Linked DNA regions of Homo sapiens: region 1 is linked to region 2. Evidence: promoter capture Hi-C in 16 types of primary human blood cells and fetal thymus (Javierre and others, 2016). All regions are on one chromosome and are shown on one strand. Each heading gives the region's core, a stretch centred on a gene start or on the middle of the fragment in contact. The rest is flanking DNA. Distances are from core to core; before and after follow the strand shown.

Region 1 (3,916 bases), core at 401-2,900, 540 kb after region 2:
GTCGCTGTCCGCTCAGCAGGTGCTGGAGGAGGGGACAGAGGCGCCTGCAGAGGTGCTTTCTCCTACTGGAATGACCACTTTTTTTTTTTTTTTTTTTTTTTTTTTTTTTTTTAAAGACAGTCTCATTCTGTCACCCAGGCTGGAGTGCAGTGGTGTGATCTCAGCTCACTGCAACCTTCGCCTTCCGGGTTCAAGTAATTCTCATGCCACAGCCTCTAGAATAGCTGGGATTAGAGGTGCTCACCACACCACACCTGGCTAATTTTTGTATTTTTAGTAGAGATGGGGTTTCACCATGTTGGCCAGGTTGTTCTTGAAATCCTGACCTCAGGTGATCTGCCCGCCTTGGCCTCCCAATGTGCTGGGATTACAGGCGTGAGCCACCGCGCCCGGCCATGACCAGTCTCAGCCCTCACTCAGCCCCGAATCTGCCCAGCCAGCATGCTGCAGGACACACACTGCTCCTCTAGAATAGTCTGGGCTCTAAGGCGTGTGGGCAGCACCCAGGCAGGGGAAGTCGACTGCTACTGGCAGCTCCAGAAGTAAATTTCCTGGGAAACACTAAGAGTGGAGTCTCTCCTGCTGAAAGCCTCCTCTTAATGAGGCTGGACCAAAGCAAAGTCGAAACTCATCCTATGATGTGTCATGAGGTCAGAGCAGAGGCAGAACTGCTGCCTCCAGACCCCACAGTACCAGCGGGCAGCCCTGCCCCAGTCCTGGCCATCTGACCAGTGCCCCAGAGAATAGAGGTGGCCTTTCCTGAAGGCTACTGACCTCTGCTGCCCTTATGGATTCTGTGTTCACATCACCTCAGGGTCTCCCTTTCCACTGCTGTAGAACAGAACTAACAACAATAATTACTACTATTGCTGCTACTTCAAAGAGCCATAGAGAAGATTAAAAGAACCAATGTCTGCGAGCCAATTGGCATATTGGTGACTATGTATTATAATATACACTACTAAGGAACAGCTTAGCTGGTTAGTTCTTCATTATCCTAAAACACTTGTTGCATATGTACCTAGTGGTAGGGAAGAAAACTGCAGAGACATGGTCCTCTCCCGTGGTGTCTACCGTTTGGCAGGGGCAGATGGACATTGGCCAATGAGCCATTCATATAAATGGGACATTGCAGCTCTTGATCAGTGCTACAAAGAAGAGGTATTTGGGCCATGAAAGCTCATAATAGGGAGATTGTTCCAGTTAGGGAATTCTGCAAAGGCTTCCTTGAGGAAGCAGGATGAGCCCTAAAGGAAACATAGGTATGGACTGGATGAACTGGGCAGAGGGGGTAGAGGAATGACATTCCAGGGAGAAGGCACTGCACATGGTGTGGCCAAGGGGGAGAACCCAGCTTCAGGTGAGACAACATGGGGAGAGCTGAGATTCAGGGGCCAAATTCCTGTTTGTCAGAATAAGCCATGAAGCAGCCAAGGACTCAAGTGTGGGAGATCTGGGGCCCAATCTAGATCAGGGGATAAGAACAGAAAAGAAATCTGAGGCACAGATCATGTAGGGGATGTTAATGGACAGAACTAGTTTGTTCTGAGTCTCTGTCATATGCTCAGCCCTTTGCTAGACTCTTTAGATACATTACTCCATTTTCTTTCACCTGGTTCTTAAAACAAATTTATAAGGTAGGTGGATTTATCGCCACTGTAATGATGGCGGAAATGAAGACCCAGAGGGGTAATCATAACTATGCCAGGTACCAGTGATTAACAAAAGAAAAGGAGTCAGGCAAAATCCCTGTCTTCCCAGAAACTATATTCCAGTTGGGGGAAGAGAGACCAAAAAGCAGATCAATACACCTTTGTTCTGGTTGTTGTGTCTGCTCTTCTTAAGTGACAGCATCAAGACTTCAACCCTGGGGACTCTGTGCAGCTGATGCTCTCAATACCCCTCACACCTCCCCTTGGCATTCGGGTCCCCTGCGCTCCAGGGGCACCTCTTGTGGGCACCTGCCCCTCTCTGCCTGAGAGCTAACTCTTGTCACCAGAGCATGCTTGAGTTTTGCACAGAAACTGCGTGGGGTGCAGGGAGATAACTCACCTCCCCTGAGAGCAGCCCTTAGCCATAACATGGCTTCCTCCTCCCTCAGAAGAGACAGCTCTAAGATGTGTCCCCCAGGGTCTCTCAGAGGTCCCCAGCAGGACTGAGTCCCACTGCCCACACAGGAACCAACTTACTAACATACCCTGCATTGGATTCTTCCCCTTTTTGGTCTCATTTCTTCACTCCCCTGCTACTGCTTCCTGGGATCATCTCCTAAATTCCAGATACTGGTATTCAAATCCTTATCTCAGCACCGTCTCTCAGGGTGCCCAACATATGACAGCTAATCCTGCATTGCCTTCCAGGGAAACAAGCAACCCTAGTTCCTAGCCCCCAAGAAGTCCTCCCATAGGACTCTGTCAGATGCTCAGAGATGACGAGGCTGGGTTGCACAACCCTCAATAACATCCTCTTTTGAATTACAGATGGCCAATGACAGCACAGAGACCAGTGAAGCAGGGGAAGAGGAGGAGGACCACGAGGGAGACAGCGAGAACAAGGAGCGGATGCCCTTTATCCAGTAACTGAGGACCCAGGTGGGAGAATGTGAAGGATGGTTTGGAAGATGAGGACCCGGCTGAGAAAACTCTTCTGTGCCCCAGTGAACAAATGCTGTAGTCCAGTGCGTGTCGTGTTTGTCTGCAGTCAGCTGAGCTAAAAAGCTGTTGATCACTGTTGTTTTTTGAAGTGCCAATCCCATGCCATGCAGTATTATGTCCCTCTCCTATCTGTGTATTACACATTCCCCTCTCCCCTGTATCAAAACCATCCATCTGTGGGTTCTTCTTGACAGTTCTAGAACAGCCTTGCAAATTAATACAAGTCCCAGGCCCAATGCCTAAGAGACCAGACGTGGGCAAAGACAAGTTTGGATGGAAAGGTGTTATCACAGAGCCCTGTCCAGCTCCTAGAATTCCTCAGGCCAGTGACACTTTTTTGCTGCTGGCCACCCATGCCTCTGATGAGAACACTTGCCAATTTGGCCAGCAGAAAGAGAGTAGGCCGGATGTTTTCATGAGCCCACAAATTTAGAAACTCTCCTAGTAGTACTTTTTCTCTCTCCATTTAAGAGACAACTACGGTCAAAAGTTTGAGCCATTCTCTTCTACCCCTTCAGTGTCTGACCCTTTCACTGGCTCTTATCTGTAAACACAGGGAGGCAGGTATGGATTTTTCACAGTAGACAATGGGTCAACAGCATGAGTTTGAGGACCTGCTGTGAAGATTTCTCCTCCAAAATACATCTCATGGGCAGGATTCTTCCTGCTCCATATCTGTTTCAATTTTAAGAAAGCACCACATACAAGACACATTCAGAAGTCATTCCTGAGCATTGCTGGTGTTTGCACACTTGCCACCTGCATTACCAATTCTGTAAATTTCAATTCCTGGTGGAAAGTGACCACTTTGACCATGGATTTCCCAAAGAAGAGTTCCTTTGCAGACCATAGGTGGAAAAGTCAATGAGCATCTCCTTCCTTGCCAAAGCATGTCCCAACATGTAACAAACTCTAGGGATACAAAAGGTTTATATTCAGCATCTGATGTCAGATGTACAGTTCCTCCCCTCCCATATATAAACCCCGGTGTAGAATCTGCAGCGCCCTGCTCTTCGGAAACCAAGGAACAAGCCACCTGCTCACACACCTTGTTCAACTTTTCAGCTCCTAAGGAACCCCACCCCCATGCAATTTGACTGTGCTTGAGAGGTGAATACAGTTACCTTCGAGAAACAGAGGGAGCTCCTCACCCCGTCCTTCCAGTCCTTTTGGCTAAAATGCTTAACTATCACTCACAAACAAATGTGGAGATACCAGGAGCTCATTTGATTCATACCCCAACTTTGTGTTCTGAAAAACAT
Region 2 (3,980 bases), core at 1,276-3,775:
ACTGTTTTCTTTCACCAAACATTGAAGCTGAAAAGCATCATCCCACAAAATGATTTGGAATATGCCCTCTGTGCATTAAAAAACAGCCTGCATTTCCACTTTCAAGGCACAGAATGGGAAACTACTTTGGAAAGTGTTTAGAAAGCTGTTGAATAATGACGAGGTATGTTTGAGTCACTTGGGTCCCCAGTTACTGGAGGAGGAAAAGGAAGAGAAATTTCTCTTTTCCCTAAACAGTCAACAACCTTCCCCCTCCTCCAATAAAAAAAAAAAAACTAAGGAATAGTGGAGCCCCTGTAGCTAGCAAAGATCAATGAGTGATGGCCTAATTAGGCTCACATTAAAAAAGAATTCTCCACAATAGACAATAATTTTCTTCTGTTTATGAACCATCTGTGACTTATTCCTTGGGCAGCTTTCATTTTTATATTCTTTATGTCCTCCCACTCCCATTTTTCTTCTTGACTCCCTCCTTTAACTAAAAATGCTGTATAATTGACATACATATTTTACAATAATGGGGGGAAAAGTTTTTCCCCTCTCTTAACCTTGAAAATCTGAGCCAGACATACAATATTTTTCTTCTCTTAAAAATCTGATACATTGCTTTAAAGGGATGTGGCTCTTGATTATGTGCAATTTCTTAGAGAAAGTCTACCTTCTCCTTCTGTCAAACTAAAACTTAACTATGAAAAAGATTCCTGACATATGCAGGAAGTCTGTGTCTCACCTTCTTGTCCCAAATCATCTGAAACTCTGCCTGCTCTTACTTGGAAGGCTCTGTAGGAACGTTATCCAGCCAGCCTTCTATGGAACCAGCCATCAAACGGCCCCAGACACCTGCTACCAGCTTGTTTCCAAGGGGAGAATAACAGGCTGTCGGTTACATTCGGTTCTTGATGGAAGAAGGGCAGTCAGTGTCCCCTGTAAAGAGTGATCTCTGATTGACCACTTCAGGAGGTGAGTAAGGGTGAGGTCCTTACAAGGTTGTGGCTGGGTCGGACGTGGCCTCCAGCCATCTGATCCTGATATAAGAATGAGGGGTGGTTTTAGAAACTGCAGCCTCTCTGTTTGGACAAAAGGTGAATCCCTTCTCCATGACTCCATCCTGCCCCACTCCCCATTCCCCTGACAAGAAAAGGAGATAACCTTGCAAAACTAAAAATTACAGAATTCTAAAGAATCCAGGTTGAGCTGTAAGGTTTTCCTAGACACCTTGCGTCAGGAATCAGCTGTTCTCCTGTAGCTGATGGGAAACAATCAAAACAAGGATTTCCCTCTGGGCTCCACTGGGAAGTTAATAAATGTCAGAAGTGAGGGATTTTCTGGAAGTTTGTGGCTGGCGAACGTCAGAAAAGATAGATAAAGGACTCAGAGACCTGAAGTCACCTGCTTTCCTCTCTCTAAAAGCAGCCTTAGACATCCGTAAAACAAGGGAAGCAGAAATGAAAAAAAAAGAAGAGATAGAAAAGGAACAGAAGTCGAGAGAAAAATGAGGAAAGATGGAGAGAGGAAAGAGGCTCACATTCTTTCATCTCCCACTAAGAATTAGCTTCCCCCAACAAGAGTTAGGAGAGGGAGGAAATAAGTAATTCCTTAGTTAATGTCCACTTCCCTTCGAATTTCTCACTGCAGTTAGGATTTTTTTTTTTTTCTTGTTCTTCTTAACAAGCCACCTGTGAAGGAGGGAGAGTATTTGCTTTTATGTGACTTGCAGCTCGGGGCGTTGATTCTTTTGATAAGTTCAGTCCTTGCCAACCTTCCCCCCTCTCCAAACAGGAACCATTTCCAAGACAGCGCACACCTGCCAGGTTAGGGGGTGCGCTTTTCCATCTTTTCTCTCTTTGGGGGAAGGAAGGGTCAAAGTGCTGCGAAAGGCCCTTCTTGGGGATGGGGGGCAAATACGAACCATCATTTAATCCGCTGGCGCCGCTGCTGCTGTCACTGGCTAAGGCCGCGGCGACCGACGCACAGCAGAGGCAGCACAGCTGGAGCGCCTGCAAGAGAAAAGGTGACATCGCGCGTGAGGGGCGCGGCGGGGCTGGCGTCGGGCGCCCCCTGCCACCCGCTCTCGGAGCTCCGCTCGGCGGCACCTGCCTTGGCCACGCGCCCCAGTCCCGCCAGGCCCCTCGGCGGGCCCGAACCCGCAGCCGGGAAGGCACACGCGAGCAGGAGGGCGCACTCCATGGTCAGGTGCGGACGCGGCGGCTGCGGGTGGCCAGACGCGGCAGGCGGAGCGCACGGGCGGCGCGCATTCTTTCCGCGGCCCCGGAGCTCGGCGCCCCAGGTGCGGCTCCAGGTGAGAGCCGCCGCCGTTCACATCGCAGCGGGGGCGCGCTGGGACCTCCCCTCCTCCGGCCGCCTGCGCGCCCTCCCTTCTCCCGGCGCGGGCCTGCCGAGCTGCAGTTTGCGGCACCCCAGAGGGTACGGGGGGCTCCCTGGGCCGGGACTGGAGCGCAAACGGTTGGGAGACTGTCGGTGTCTGCCCGCCCGTCTGTGCGTCTGTCTGTGTCGGTGTGAGCGTCTGAGGCGATGGGGAAGACAGCGCCAGCTGGCTCCCCCAGCGCGCCGGAGCCGAGCGCCCGCCTCTCCACCGCGCGGTGATTGGCGACCAGCGGCTCCCGGGCTCGTCCGAGCCCCCGGGCTGGTGCAAGGGCGTGGGATTCCCGGCTCCAGCTCTGAGGGAGGGGGCGAAGGGGGCGGGGAGGCTGGGTGGGAGTGATAGGGAGGGAGGGACCGACCGCCATGAGAAGGAGGGGAGCGCCCAGGGTCAGGCTTGGAAAACGTAATTTAAGCGCACTGGGAGATGAGTTCGGAAGACGAAAGGCTCAGGTGAGTGGCGCGACTTTTTCGCTGCCTGTGCAGACTTCTCATTTTCAACTCTTCTGGCAAAGAGTCAAGATAGCGTCCTCAACACCTCCTAAGTGCTGGGAGCTATCCCCTGCTGTATCGCATTTGCCTCAGGCCCTACCTTTTTCAGGTGGGAATTATTAATTCCTTGATAAAGATGAGGAAAAGGAGGCTCAGATGCGCACAAGCTGACCTAGCTTCCCAGAGTCAGCAAATCTGAGGCAGCCGGGAGGACCAGAACAATGAGCTGTCACTGTCTGCAGCATGTAAAAACTCATGGCACGCGGGGGCCTCCCTCTTCTCCCGGATCTCTCTCTCTCTTCTTGACGTGACCGTGCTTCCCACTCTTCGAGATTGAATCTTGGCCCCAGATACCCAAACCCACAGAAATCAGTTATAACAAACAGCGCACGCCATCACTAGGAATGTGCATCCAGTTTGCTGTGTGCCTGTTCGTTTACTCAAGACATTTATTTGATCCTTTGATCCCTGTTTGCAGAGGTGAACAAAATACAGTCTCACGGGCCAGTGGAAACGAATCTGATTGGATAGCTCGACAACGGTAATAGAAGCAAAATGAACACAAATACTAAAAAGGAAAAGAATAGTCTCCTAAATTAGATGGCAGCAGAATCTAATTTAGATGGGATAAGATGTGTGTGTGTGTGTGTGTGTGTGTGTGTGTGTGTGGGTGTATATATACACACACACATATATATACACACACACACGCATACATACACGTGCAAGGCATCTGTTAGGAGCTGACACTTAAAATAAGGCCAGAGAGAGTGGATCGGTTTTATAAGGGAAGAGGGGAGTAGGATCTTGCATGTTAGGACAGGGGGCACAGCATAAGTGAAGGTCTCAAGGTAGTTAAGTGATTGCCACGTGAAAAGTGTTACAGGCCAGAGGAAGAAGCAAACACAGCAGTTGCTGGGTCAGCTGGACCTTGTAAGCTGGGGCGAAGCATGTTGGAAACCATTAGATTTAAATGAATGTGGGTTTGTGTATGTGTAGGAGGCAACATCATATCCAATAATAAAAAAATGTGAACCATTTTTTGAGCGAGTGTAGGGATTGGACGAGCTGAGGCAGGGTCAGAGAGAAACAAACCACGCAGCTGTTGC

Evidence for each region. Contacts are between HindIII fragments. The CHiCAGO score rates a contact against its expected background, and 5 or more counts as called.
Region 1: a fragment that was not itself captured here is called in contact with the fragment with the promoter of ADAMTS18 in region 2 in 1 of 17 cell types (endothelial precursors); the score reaches 8.3 in endothelial precursors.

The regions. Positions count from the first base shown.
Region 1 is chr16:77,975,117-77,979,032 of GRCh38, forward strand. VAT1L (vesicle amine transport 1 like) reads left to right here. Exons shown (of 9, transcript NM_020927.3): 9 at 2,481-3,916. The coding sequence ends at 2,579. Among named protein-coding and RNA genes, the nearest start is that of CLEC3A, 45 kb to the right of the region's middle. The HindIII fragment of the contact is 4,854 bases long and covers 1-3,916 here.
Region 2 is chr16:77,432,509-77,436,488 of GRCh38, forward strand. It overlaps ADAMTS18 (ADAM metallopeptidase with thrombospondin type 1 motif 18), which reads right to left and starts at 2,526. Exons shown (of 23, transcript NM_199355.4): 1 at 2,098-2,526; 2 at 1,910-1,997. The coding sequence starts at 2,187. RefSeq lists an enhancer at 2,222-2,722. The HindIII fragment of the contact is 7,514 bases long and covers 1-3,980 here.